Regions from separate parts of the Homo sapiens genome. Here region 1 is linked to region 2. Evidence: promoter capture Hi-C in 16 types of primary human blood cells and fetal thymus (Javierre and others, 2016). All regions are on one chromosome and are shown on one strand. Each heading gives the region's core, a stretch centred on a gene start or on the middle of the fragment in contact. The rest is flanking DNA. Distances are from core to core; before and after follow the strand shown. Region 1 overlaps LAPTM4A (lysosomal protein transmembrane 4 alpha). Region 2 holds the start of RHOB (ras homolog family member B).

Region 1 (5,638 bases), core at 1,112-3,611, 400 kb before region 2:
TTTCCTAGCTACCTATTTCCCTTTTGTCTTCCTCTTTACACATGCTCCAGTTTGATGGACATATATTAAAATGAGGTAAAGTCACCCTGGTCAGAACATAATGGGATCTCAGTTCTCATATTCTGGCTAACGAATTTCAATTAATGCAACCTGAAGTTGTACTGAGGTTTTTTGTTTTTGTTAGAAACAAGGTCTCACCATATTGCCTAGGCTGGTCTTGAACTCTTGGCCTCAAGTGATCCTCCTGCTTTAGCCTCCCAACATGCTGTGATTACAGGCATGAGCCACCGCACCCAGCCTGCATTGGCTTTACAAATTTTCTGAATATCACATGAGAGTAACTCCCTAAAACACCAAGTTCTTTTTCACACTTGATTGTGCTAAGCTCCCACCTGTACAGTTGGATTCAGAGGCCCAAGCATAGGCCTTAATATACCTGTAATTGAGTTTCATCTTATTACATTCTTGCCTATGAAGATTTTCTGGATGTGGATTCTGACACACTACAGATTTACTGTCTCAACTTCCTGAATTTAGGATCAGCATGTAATCAGTATTTCCATCTAAGTTACTAACAAAAGAGAACAGAGGTGAGGACAAAGCTGCCAGAGGCTGCCCCTTCCCATTAACTAGCAACTTCTGAATAAAATTGTTTAGCTCTTTAGAGGAACAGCCTGCTGAAATCCCATTATAATATCTGAATTTTCCTAGTCTCCCAGGGTTGTAAATCCATTTTAAAAGGAAATGAGTTGTGCCTGTAGTTGTTGGCCAATCCCTGTGGTATCCCAGGAGGCTTCACTGCATTTAAGTACTCAGAAAGAGTATTGTTAACGACTCAAGACAGAAATCTCACGTAGGATTGGAGTTAGGCTTCCTTATCTAGCATAGTAAAGTTCACAGAATTTGCCCTCCTTCCCTTTGTGAAAATGTGAACATCTGGAATTTTCAAGGGTTAAGTTCCTATCAGTAGTATTTTAATTTATTTAGTTTTTGAGATGGAGTCTCGCTCTGTCGCCCAGGCTGGAGTGCAGTAGCGCAATCTCGGCTCACTGCAGCCTCCACCTCCTGGGTTCAAGCGATTCTCCTGCCTCAGTCCCCGGGGTAGCTGGGACTTTTTTTTTTTTTGAGACCAAGCCTTGCTCTGTCACCCAAGCTGGAGTGCAGTGGCGCAATCTCAGCTCACTGCAGCTTCCACCTCTTGGGTTCAAGCAATTCTCACACCTCAGCCTCCCAAGTAGCTGGGACCTTTTTTTTTTTTTTTTTTTTTGAGACCAAGCCTCGCTCTGTCACCCAGGCTGGAGTGCAGTGGCACGATCTCGGCTTACTGCAGCTTCCACCTCTTGGGTTCAGGCCATTCTCACACCTCAGCCTCCCGAGTAGCTGGGACTACAGGCGTGCACCATTCAAGCCTGGCTAATTTTTGTATTTTTAGTAGAGGTGGGGTTTCGCCACGTTGGCCAGGCTGGTCTCAAACTCCTGACCTCAAGTGATCCACCAGCCTTGGCCTCCCAAAGTGCTGGGATTACAGGTGTGAGCCACTGTGTCGGCCAGCTATCGATAGTATTTTAAACAAACTATTATATACTTCTCTCCTGTTTCACCTTGAATGATAAACACACAGGAAATGCATTTTCCTTTTATCAGCTGAAGTCATTTCACTAACATCCGCTAGATAAGCAGATCAAGTTTTATTTTAGGGTAGGTGATCTAAACAATGCCACAATATGAAATTTGGAATCAACCAATATTTATTGAGGATATGCTTTATGACATGTGTATTTACGTGTATTACTTCACTTATTCCTCACAACAACCCGTGAAGTAAGTATTACCAAAGCCTATGTGTAGATGGGGAAACTTAAGATTCAGTAAAGCTATATAACTTGTGTTAAGCTTGCTGAGCTGACAGATGGGAGAATCAGGACACAAGTCTGGTTTTTAAGACATCCTCCTTCTCAGCACTACGTGATTATTAATAAACATTCCCCAGTAACTCCTATTTTAAGGTCTTTCCCAAAGAAACCATTATCTAAGGCTATAAAATGTTTAGACTTTACTGTCTATGTTCAGCAGCAAGCCTCTTTCCTTGCATTGTTCAGAGGCAAGGCATGATATCTTTCAATTCTTGAGAGGACTTACCAGGAACAATCACTTTTGCAAGGTGGCTCTCCCCAGTTGAAAGCTGATTTTTTTTGTTGCCCACATTTGCTGCAATGGGTTTTGGCCAGCGTGTGTGGTGTATGAGTATGAGCTAATACAACTAGGTGAATTAATTACTGAACTATCAGATATATCTACTAAAACGTTATATGTTCTGTGTATGGAAATCAGTTTGAAATCAATTAGGCAAACTCTTCTTTGCTAAACACAGCATAGTCACAGTGAAAAAGCTCTCTGCGGTACAGAAATTCCTTTGTCAAGAAAAGCATGCAAACCCAATTACTAAATGAAGGGAATGACATGCCAAAAACATTTAGGAGTTCTATTTTCCCTTCTTAAATATTTTTATTACATGAAGGATTTCTAAAAATCTCACACCTATAGTCCCAGCTACTTGGGAGGCTGAGGTGGGAAGGATCGCCTGAGCTCTGGAGACCAGCCTAGGCAACAATACTAAGTCTGTCTCTTAAAAAACAAAAGAACTCTTCACTTTTCTTCTCTTCCATGGATAAGTCACACGCTCATCCACTATTATCTTCTTTTAGTACTAGAGACACTTCAAGTTTAATTTCACTGTGGGTCATACCACTAAATATTAAACAAAATAAATCGTAGGGCCAATCAGAAGGACCAAGAAACAGTGAAATAAATTTCAATGCTACTTCATTAAAAGCTTTTTCCAAATCTTCTTTGAGTTAATTATATTCCATTAGATCACATCATTTCATTAGAACCCCAACTTACATCTTAAAGTATTACACTGGAAAACCCATCCTTGTGACTTAAAAAAATTTTTTTTGTAGAGATGGAGTCTCACTATGTTGTCCAGTCTGGTCTTGAACTCCTGGCCTCAAGTGATCCTACTGCATTGGCCTCCTAAAGTGCTAGGATGACAGGCACGAGCCACCGCTCCTGGCATCCTTTGATCTTAAAGATATTCACCAACGAACGCCTACCTTGTGCTCACATGTAAGCCCTGGCAACTTATCTCTGATTAAAGTTGATATTTCTAAATTACATGTTTAGCTTTTCAAAAAATACATAAAATTAACTGTAATCTTACAATACAAAATTTCTCTGAAAATATCCAACTATGTACTAACTATTACAAATATTTATTCCTGATTCACTTTTTCCTTTCACTGTATTCAGGAAAGAAAGTTAATAAAAATGTAATTTAAAAAGAATGATTAAGCTGGGGACAGTGGTGTGTGCCTGTAGTCCCAGCTGGTCAGGTGCCTGAGGTGGGAGGATTGTTTGAGCCCAGTTCAAGGCTGCAGTGTGCTATAATCATGCCATTGCACACCAGCACAGGCAACATAGCAAGACCCCATCTCTTTAAAAAAAAAAAAAAAAGATTAAATTATTAACTTCTAAACTTGGCAATATGGAGAGGTATAGAATGCAGCAATATTTTAGCAGCATGGGCTGCGGATTCACCACTCAATGTGTTAACAGTACTGTAAATTTAATCAGTCAAATCAGGTGGTGTGCATTGTTTTTGAAAGCTTCTACATCTTATGTAAGTGTGTACAATAAGAAATCTGTTAGATTTGACTTGTTACAAAATAACTGTATCAGATCCATGGAAGCACAGGGCCTGAAGAGAGGAATTCTTTGTTTTCTTCTTTCACTGCCACACCTATTCCAGAAGATTCTCTGGAGACTTTAAAAAAAAAATCATTTTTCAGTTTTCCCACAGTAATTTGCCCAGAGCCAGTATCTACTGAGATAATAATTAAAACAGTGTGTCTGGTTTAAGGAGGCATCCAGATAAGGGCTTCCCATGCAGAGAAAGCACCCACAGGAGGGTCAATCTACAGAACTAAGCAAAGCCTGTTATCTGATAAAGATCAAAATTGACTATCTTTAAAACGTTTTTTAGCCATAAAAAAGGATTAGTTCATGTCCTTTGCAGGGACATGGATGAAGCTGGAAACCATCATTCTCAGCAAACTATTACAAGGACAGAAAACCAAACACCGCATGTTCTCACTCATAGGTGGGAACTGAACAATGAGAACACTTGGACACAGGGTGGGGAACATCACACACCTACACCAGGGCCTGTCAGCGGGTGGCGGGCTGGGGGAGGGATAGCATTAGGAGAAATAACTAATGTAAATGATGAGTTGATGGGTGCAGCAAACCAACATGGCACATGTATACCTATGCAACAAACCTGCACGCTGTGGACATGTACCCTAGAACTTACAGTATAATTTAAAAAAAAAAAGTTTTTTGTTGTTGTTTACTGTTACATGCAGATACAACTGAGTATTCACAATATTTTTTGGAGGAGACATTCATTCAACAAATGTGTAATGAACACCTCAAATGTTTTAATTAATAAGTTAGCCATCACACACATTTTATTTTGAGACAGGGTCTCATTCTGTCACCCAGGATGGAGAGTAGTTACTGCGATCTAGGCTCACTGCAACCTCTGCCTCCCCGGCTCAAGTGATCCTCCCACTTCAGCCTCCCCTGTAGCTGGGACTACAGGCATGCACCACCACACCATGCCCCGCTAATATATATATGTATGTATGTGTGTGTGTATATATATTTTTATATGTTTTATATATATTTATATATTATATATCTATATATAAATATATATTATATAAATATATATATAATATAATATATAAATATATATATAATATAATATATATTTTTTTTTGGTAGAGAGGGGGTTTCGTCATGTTGCTCAGGCTGGTCTCGAACTCCTGGGCAATCCACCTGCCTTGGCCTCCCAAAATGCTGGGATTACAGGCGTGAGCCACTGCCCTTATAAAGACATCACCCTCTTCCCTCCAGGAGAACATCTTGCTGTAGAGAGAAAAATAAGAGAAAAGGACAATCCTACCAATGTGTACTGAGTACTATTTAATAAGTACATACAAGAAGGATCCAGAAACTTTTGCAGGTGCACCGTGAGAAAAACAGATCCCCCTGGCTAGGAAGTAAAGAAAGCTTGGCTGGGCATGGTAGCTCACGCCTGTAATCCCAGCACTTTGGGAGGCCAAGGCAGGCAGATCATGAGGTCAGGAGATCGAGACAATCCCGGCCAACACGGTGAAACCCCGTCTCTACTAAAATACAAAAAATTAGCCCGACATGGTGGCGGGTGCCTGTAGTCCCAGCTATTTGGGAGGCTGGGGCAGAGGAATCGCTTGAACCTGGGAGGCGGAGGTTGCAGTGAGCCGAGATCGCACCACTGCACTCCAGCCTGGTGACAGAGCAAGACTCTGTCTCAAAAAAGAAAAAAAAAAAAAAAGGCCGGGCGCGGTGGCTCACGCCTGTAATCCCAGCACTTTGGGAGGCCGAGGCGGGTGGATCATGAGGTCAGGAGATCGAGACCATCCTGGCTAACAAGGTGAAACCCCGTCTCTACTAAAAATACAAAAAATTAGCCGGGCGCGGTGGCGGGCGCCTGTAGTCCCAGCTACTCGGGAGGCTGAGGCAGGAGAAT
Region 2 (6,331 bases), core at 195-2,694:
CCCCCTATCCCCTTCTTCCTCTTTTATCCGTAGAAATCGGTTGACTTGGGTCTTTCCGGATCACCGGTACTGTCATTTCATGCAGGATCTACAGGATAAATGAGTTCAGTCCTGGCGTGCATCAGGAGGCTACGCCCCAATAGAGGGGACACCCCCTAACCCGCTGTGCCCCATTTGCTAGCCCCTTACTCCTCCCCTCTTCTCCAGCCTCAAGCCTTTTCGTCTGCTCAGGGGTCTTGGGGTGGTTGGATTCTATTGAACCCGGAATATTGTACGTTCTATTGTACAATAGTGTATATTCTATTGTACATTCTATTGTACAATAGTGTATATTCTATTGTACATTCTATTGTACAATAGTGTATATTCTATTGTACATTCTATTGTACAATAGTGTATATTCTATTGTACATTCTATTGTACAATAGTGTATATTCTATTGTACATTCTATTGTACAAGTGTATATTCTATTGTACATTCTATTGTACAATAGTGTATATTCTATTGTACATTCTATTGTACAATAGTGTATATTCTATTGTACATTCTATTGTACAATAGTGTATATTCTATTGTACAATTTATCTCAGACAGTTCTCTGTTTTAAGAACCGGGATCAGAGTTCATAGTGAAAAGAGGGGCCGAAGGGGCTTCTTCCTGTCCGGTAACTTCCTCCAAGTGTTCGAGCCTCGACCTTCCCTTTCCGTTGTCAAGCTTGGGCCACTCCGCACCTCTTCCCTTAATCTTCACCTAGAGACCTAAGCTGGGGGTTGGGAAGGGTAGGGGCGGCGGGACTTGGAAGAGCCAGTTTGCAGCCAGCCGGTCGCCTCTCGGGTCCAAACCCGAGGCTGGCCCACGGCGAGTACCCGGGTGGGGCCCTAAACCACAGGAGGGGCCACCTCCAAAAGAAAAGAGAAAACACTCTTGTTTGGGAACAAAAGTGTGTGTGTGGGGTGTGTGTGTGTGTGTGTGTGTGTGTGTGTCTGTTTATTTAAAAACAAAACCACGTTAAAAGAGCTGCCCCTCCCCCACAGGCCCGACCACCCGCCGGGAGTTTGCCAGGAAGAGGGGCAATTCTGAATGGGAGTCGCCAACGCCCCACTGAGTGAAGCCTGTCTCGGAACCGCTCGCCCAGACCCTGGAGGCTCCAGACAGCCAGCTCCCGGACCCCGCGCGCAAACGCTGCGGCGAAGGAGGGGACCCGGGTACCGCCAGAGCCCCGCAGCGGCAGCAGCAGCGCGGACTCCCCGGTCGCTGCCTCTCCCAGCCCGGCGGCCTGGGCCGTCAATCAAGCTGGCCCTGCCCCGCCCTCGGGCTGCAGGGGGCGGCCAATCAGAGCTAAGCTCCGCAGCGATGAGCTCAGCCGGCTGGTTTCCCATTGGACGGCTATATTAAGAAAGTGGCCGGACTCTTTAAATAGCGGGCGCTAGGGCCGCAGCCCTCATCTGCCACCGCAGTCTGGTTGGAGCTGTTGTCTTGTATGCTCAGCGAGGCCCGGAGAGACCCGGGAGAGAGCTAGGCCGAGTCCACCGCCCGAGTCTGCTGCCCGAGCCCGCGTTACGCACAAAGCCGCCGATCCCCGGCCTGGGGTGAGCAGAGCGACCACCGCCCGGGAGCAGCGCGGCGAGACGCACGGTGCGCCCTATGCCCCCGCGCCCCCACCGCCCCCGCCGCGGCAGCCGAAGCGCAGCGAGAGAACGCGCCACCGCGGGGCCCGGGTGCAGCTAGCGACCCTCTCGCCACCTGCGCGCAGCCCGAGGTGAGCAGTGAGCGGCGAGCGGGAGGGCAGCGAGGCGTTCGCGGGCCCCCTCCTGCTGCCCGGGCCCGGCCCGCTCATGGCGGCCATCCGCAAGAAGCTGGTGGTGGTGGGCGACGGCGCGTGTGGCAAGACGTGCCTGCTGATCGTGTTCAGTAAGGACGAGTTCCCCGAGGTGTACGTGCCCACCGTCTTCGAGAACTATGTGGCCGACATTGAGGTGGACGGCAAGCAGGTGGAGCTGGCGCTGTGGGACACGGCGGGCCAGGAGGACTACGACCGCCTGCGGCCGCTCTCCTACCCGGACACCGACGTCATTCTCATGTGCTTCTCGGTGGACAGCCCGGACTCGCTGGAGAACATCCCCGAGAAGTGGGTCCCCGAGGTGAAGCACTTCTGTCCCAATGTGCCCATCATCCTGGTGGCCAACAAAAAAGACCTGCGCAGCGACGAGCATGTCCGCACAGAGCTGGCCCGCATGAAGCAGGAACCCGTGCGCACGGATGACGGCCGCGCCATGGCCGTGCGCATCCAAGCCTACGACTACCTCGAGTGCTCTGCCAAGACCAAGGAAGGCGTGCGCGAGGTCTTCGAGACGGCCACGCGCGCCGCGCTGCAGAAGCGCTACGGCTCCCAGAACGGCTGCATCAACTGCTGCAAGGTGCTATGAGGGCCGCGCCCGTCGCGCCTGCCCCTGCCGGCACGGCTCCCCCTCCTGGACCAGTCCCCCGCGAGCCCGGAGAAGGGGAGACCCGTGTCCCACAAGGACCCCACCGGCCTGCCTGGCATCTGTCTGCTGACGCCTCTGGCTTGCGCCAGGACTTGGCGTGGGCACCGGGCGCCCCCATCCCAGTGTCTGTGTGCGTCCAGCTGTGTTGCACAGGCCTGGGCTCCCCACTGAGTGCCAAGGGTCCCCTGAGCATGCTTTTCTGAAGAGCCGGGCCTCAGAGTGTGTGGCTGTGTGTCTGTTCGACTCCCCTCGCCCCATTTTCACCCCACCCCCGCCTCTGATCCCCGGGGGCGAGATTGGCGCGGGAGTGTGGCCGCGCCCCATCAGATGTTCGCCCTTCACCAGCGGGAGCTTGATATCCCTTGTCTGTAACATAGACCCCGGGTACTGCGGGAGGGGAGGGCTGCTGGGGAGGATGGGGGGATGTTATATAAATATAGATATAATTTTATTTTCGGAGCTAAGATGGTGTTATTTAAGGGTGGTGATGGGTGAGCGCTCTGGCCCAGGCTGGGCCAGACTCCCGCCCAAGCATGAACAGGACTTGACCATCTTTCCAACCCCTGGGGAAGACATTTGCAACTGACTTGGGGAGGACACAGCTTCAGCACAGCCTCTCCTGCGGGCCAGCCCGCTGCGAACCCTCCACCAGCTACCGGAGGGAGGAGGGAGGATGCGCTGTGGGGTTGTTTTTGCCATAAGCGAACTTTGTGCCTGTCCTAGAAGTGAAAATTGTTCAGTCCAAGAAACTGATGTTATTTGATTTATTTAAAGGCTAAAATTTGTTTTTTTATTCTTTGCACAATTGTTTCATTGTTTGACACTTAATGCACTCGTCATTTGCATACGACAGTAGCATTCTGACCACACTTGTACGCTGTAACCTCATCTACTTCTGATGTTTTTAAAAAATGACTTTTAACAAGGAGAGGGAAAAGAAACCCACTAAATTTTGCTTTGTTTCCTTGAAGAATGTGGCAACACTGTTTTGTGATTTTATTTGTGCAGGTCATGCACACAGTTTTGATAAAGGGCAGTAACAAGTATTGGGGCCTATTTTTTTTTTTTCCACAAGGCATTCTCTAAAGCTATGTGAAATTTTCTCTGCACCTCTGTACAGAGAATACACCTGCCCCTGTATATCCTTTTTTCCCCTCCCCTCCCTCCCAGTGGTACTTCTACTAAATTGTTGTCTTGTTTTTTATTTTTTAAATAAACTGACAAATGACAAAATGGTGAGCTTATGATGTTTACATAAAAGTTCTATAAGCTGTGTATACAGTTTTTTATGTAAAATATTAAAAGACTATGATGATGACATTTATAAAATGGCTCTTGTGGTTTAATAGTGTGTAAAAATACCCTTGTGAATTTGGAACAAGGGAGATATTCTCCTAGGCGAGATCCTTTCTTGCCAACTCCGTTTCCCTTATAGCAAATGTAGTAAATGAGGATGAAGTCCCTTTGAGAGCATGTGGGGGTTGGGTGACCAAGGGAGACCAGGTTGTTCCTGTCACATTCCTAGAGGAAGATGAGTGGATACCCCGACACCCAGTGCAAAAACTTTTGACCTATTATGTACTCAGTTCAATTGGGTGAGACCGAAGATCTTGATTTCATTCATCTGTGTGTCTTAAAAACACTTGTGTCTTTAAGTCTATTATGGGGCTTTGCTTATTCTTTGAGTCTTGGAAAGTTATCATTTGTGCATTTTAAATTTAGAAAACCTTTATTAATCGTTGGTGTGGGGTCACGCTATCAGGAAGCCTGTTTACTGGGTTCCCTTCAGGCCATCAAGGGGTTTACACAATATCCCAGGAAGTTGTAGGTTGTTATCTTTGGGCCTGGAGCTTCCAGAAGTGGGGGAGTTCAGATAAAGAGGTGATTTTTTAAAATTATCAAGCTTTGATCCCAATATGTCCTTTATTAAGTAACCTAGAATGATTTATTCTAAGTTCAGAGAAGGGCCATATTGTGGAAAGAACATTGGATGTTTTGGTGGTTCTTAAAGTTGGAGCTGCCACTTTTTGAGAGTCATGATAAACTCTAATCGTAGACACTTAGCTTTGCTGTAATGGTTCTTAGAACCAGACGGGCTGATTTATAGGTGGAGACCACATTAAAATTCTGCTGCAGGCATGATGGTTCAAACCTGCCAGCTCTCGCAGCTTCCAGGGAAGGTAGCTGAGAGTGTCAACTGCCTGAGAAGTGTGGTTTTCATTTTTTTTGAATCAGCATTTTCTGGGTTTCTAGCACTTAGTTGCCACCTTCTCCTTCCCCCTCCTCCCCATTCCCAGGACAAAGGTGGAGGTCTCCTTTGAAGTTGTTTGCTTCAAAGCTTGAGGCTTCTGTTTCCTGGTCTTACCCCAGACTCCAAGAGCTTTTGTTGAGTGAATAAAACCTGGTTGGTGGTGACCTTTCACCCACTTAAATGCTGGCAGTAACTGGACCTCCTGCTCAGCTGGGTGGGTGCATTGACTAACAGAAGGGGATTGTCTGGGCTCCTCCAGGAGCAGAGGGGAGAGGGGTCTATCCAGGCTGCCTGCTTTGAGCAACTGCCTAACTCCTTCCTCAGTCCCTCGGCCCCACTCACCTCCAGACTGCAGTCTCCTTTTTCATTTTAAAGACAAAACTTCCCATCGACAAACAGCATGTTTATTTGCAGCTTTTACAGCTAGCAAATCCTTTGGTACCAGGGAGCGCAGGACCCAGTGGGGGAAGAGTTCAGGCTTGGGCTGAATGCCCAGGACTCAGCTTTGCAACCAGCCAAGAGCCTGGAGGCCCAACTCCCTGAAAGGGCCTTTTCTGGGTTGCTCTGATCTGCCTGGTACCCATAACTGTCTGTGTTTTATATTATGGGCAGACAAACACTCAGATGACGCATGGCAGCCCAAGTTATGCTTGTTTGAAAATGCGTGGCATTTCATAATCCTGCCGGAACACACTCTTCTTGCTGCATTAGGATCCAACTGGAAAACATAAAGATGAATTGCTGTAGGCTGGAAAATCAATTAGGAAAAAGAGGTAAAACATCTGGTGTTACTCTTAGAATATGAAAATTCATTTTGCACATTTAAAATAAATGTGTTGAGTTGATTTAATTGCCTGTTGAACTGTTTCGTGGAAAATACTGGGAAGTTGCATTGATCCTGGGCATTTTGCAGTAAGGGGCATTGTCTTGAGTTCTCCTTTAATCTTAATCTTTAATCAATCTGGATTGTATTTCTAAGGTCTTTTTCACGTGAGTTTCAGTAGACTTGGAACTTCAGTTTTCAAAGTCAAGTGTGTATTAGAATTACACGGAGGGCTGGTTAAAACACAGATGGCTGGGCCTAACCCCACAGTTTCTGATCCAGTAGGTCTGGGCTAGGGCTTAAGAATTTGAATTTGTAGCAAGGTTCTAAGTGATGACAAGCTGCTGGTTGGGACCACACTTTGAGAACTACTGGCTTCGAATAAGGGAGAGTCCTTGTCAGTGTACAGAGTAGGGAGGTGGTTTCCTATGAAAATAGATTAAATTCCACAGACTTATGGTGCTATGCCCTGCAGTCTTGACTTCCTTACACAACGGAGTACATAGCTTCCAGAGAGCTTTCCTTCTAAGATAAGCCACACATAACTCCTATCTTCTCTTCCCTACATTCTTCTGCAAAAATGGGTTTAATGCCCTTCTAGAGATTCATTTCTTTCTTTCCTTTTTAAGAGACAGGGTCTTGCTCTGTCGCCCAGGCTGGAGTGCAGTGGTGCCATCATAGCTCACTGAAGCCTCAACCTCCTGGGCTCAAGCAATCCTCCCACCTCAGTCTCCTGAGTAGGTGGGACTACAGGTGTGCCCAGCTAACTT

Evidence for each region. Contacts are between HindIII fragments. The CHiCAGO score rates a contact against its expected background, and 5 or more counts as called.
Region 1: a fragment that was not itself captured here is called in contact with the fragment with the promoter of RHOB in region 2 in 1 of 17 cell types (neutrophils); the score reaches 5.2 in neutrophils.

What each region holds. Positions count from the first base shown.
Region 1 is chr2:20,041,966-20,047,603 of GRCh38, forward strand. The region is part of intron 1 of LAPTM4A (lysosomal protein transmembrane 4 alpha); the gene reads right to left. Among named protein-coding and RNA genes, the nearest start is that of LAPTM4A, 6.8 kb to the right of the region's middle. The HindIII fragment of the contact is 940 bases long and covers 1,892-2,831 here.
Region 2 is chr2:20,445,630-20,451,960 of GRCh38, forward strand. RHOB (ras homolog family member B) reads left to right here and starts at 1,445. Exons shown (of 1, transcript NM_004040.4): 1 at 1,445-3,811. The coding sequence starts at 1,837. The coding sequence ends at 2,427. RefSeq lists silencers at 1,154-1,403, 1,654-1,863 and an enhancer at 4,572-5,133. The HindIII fragment of the contact is 3,675 bases long and covers 714-4,388 here.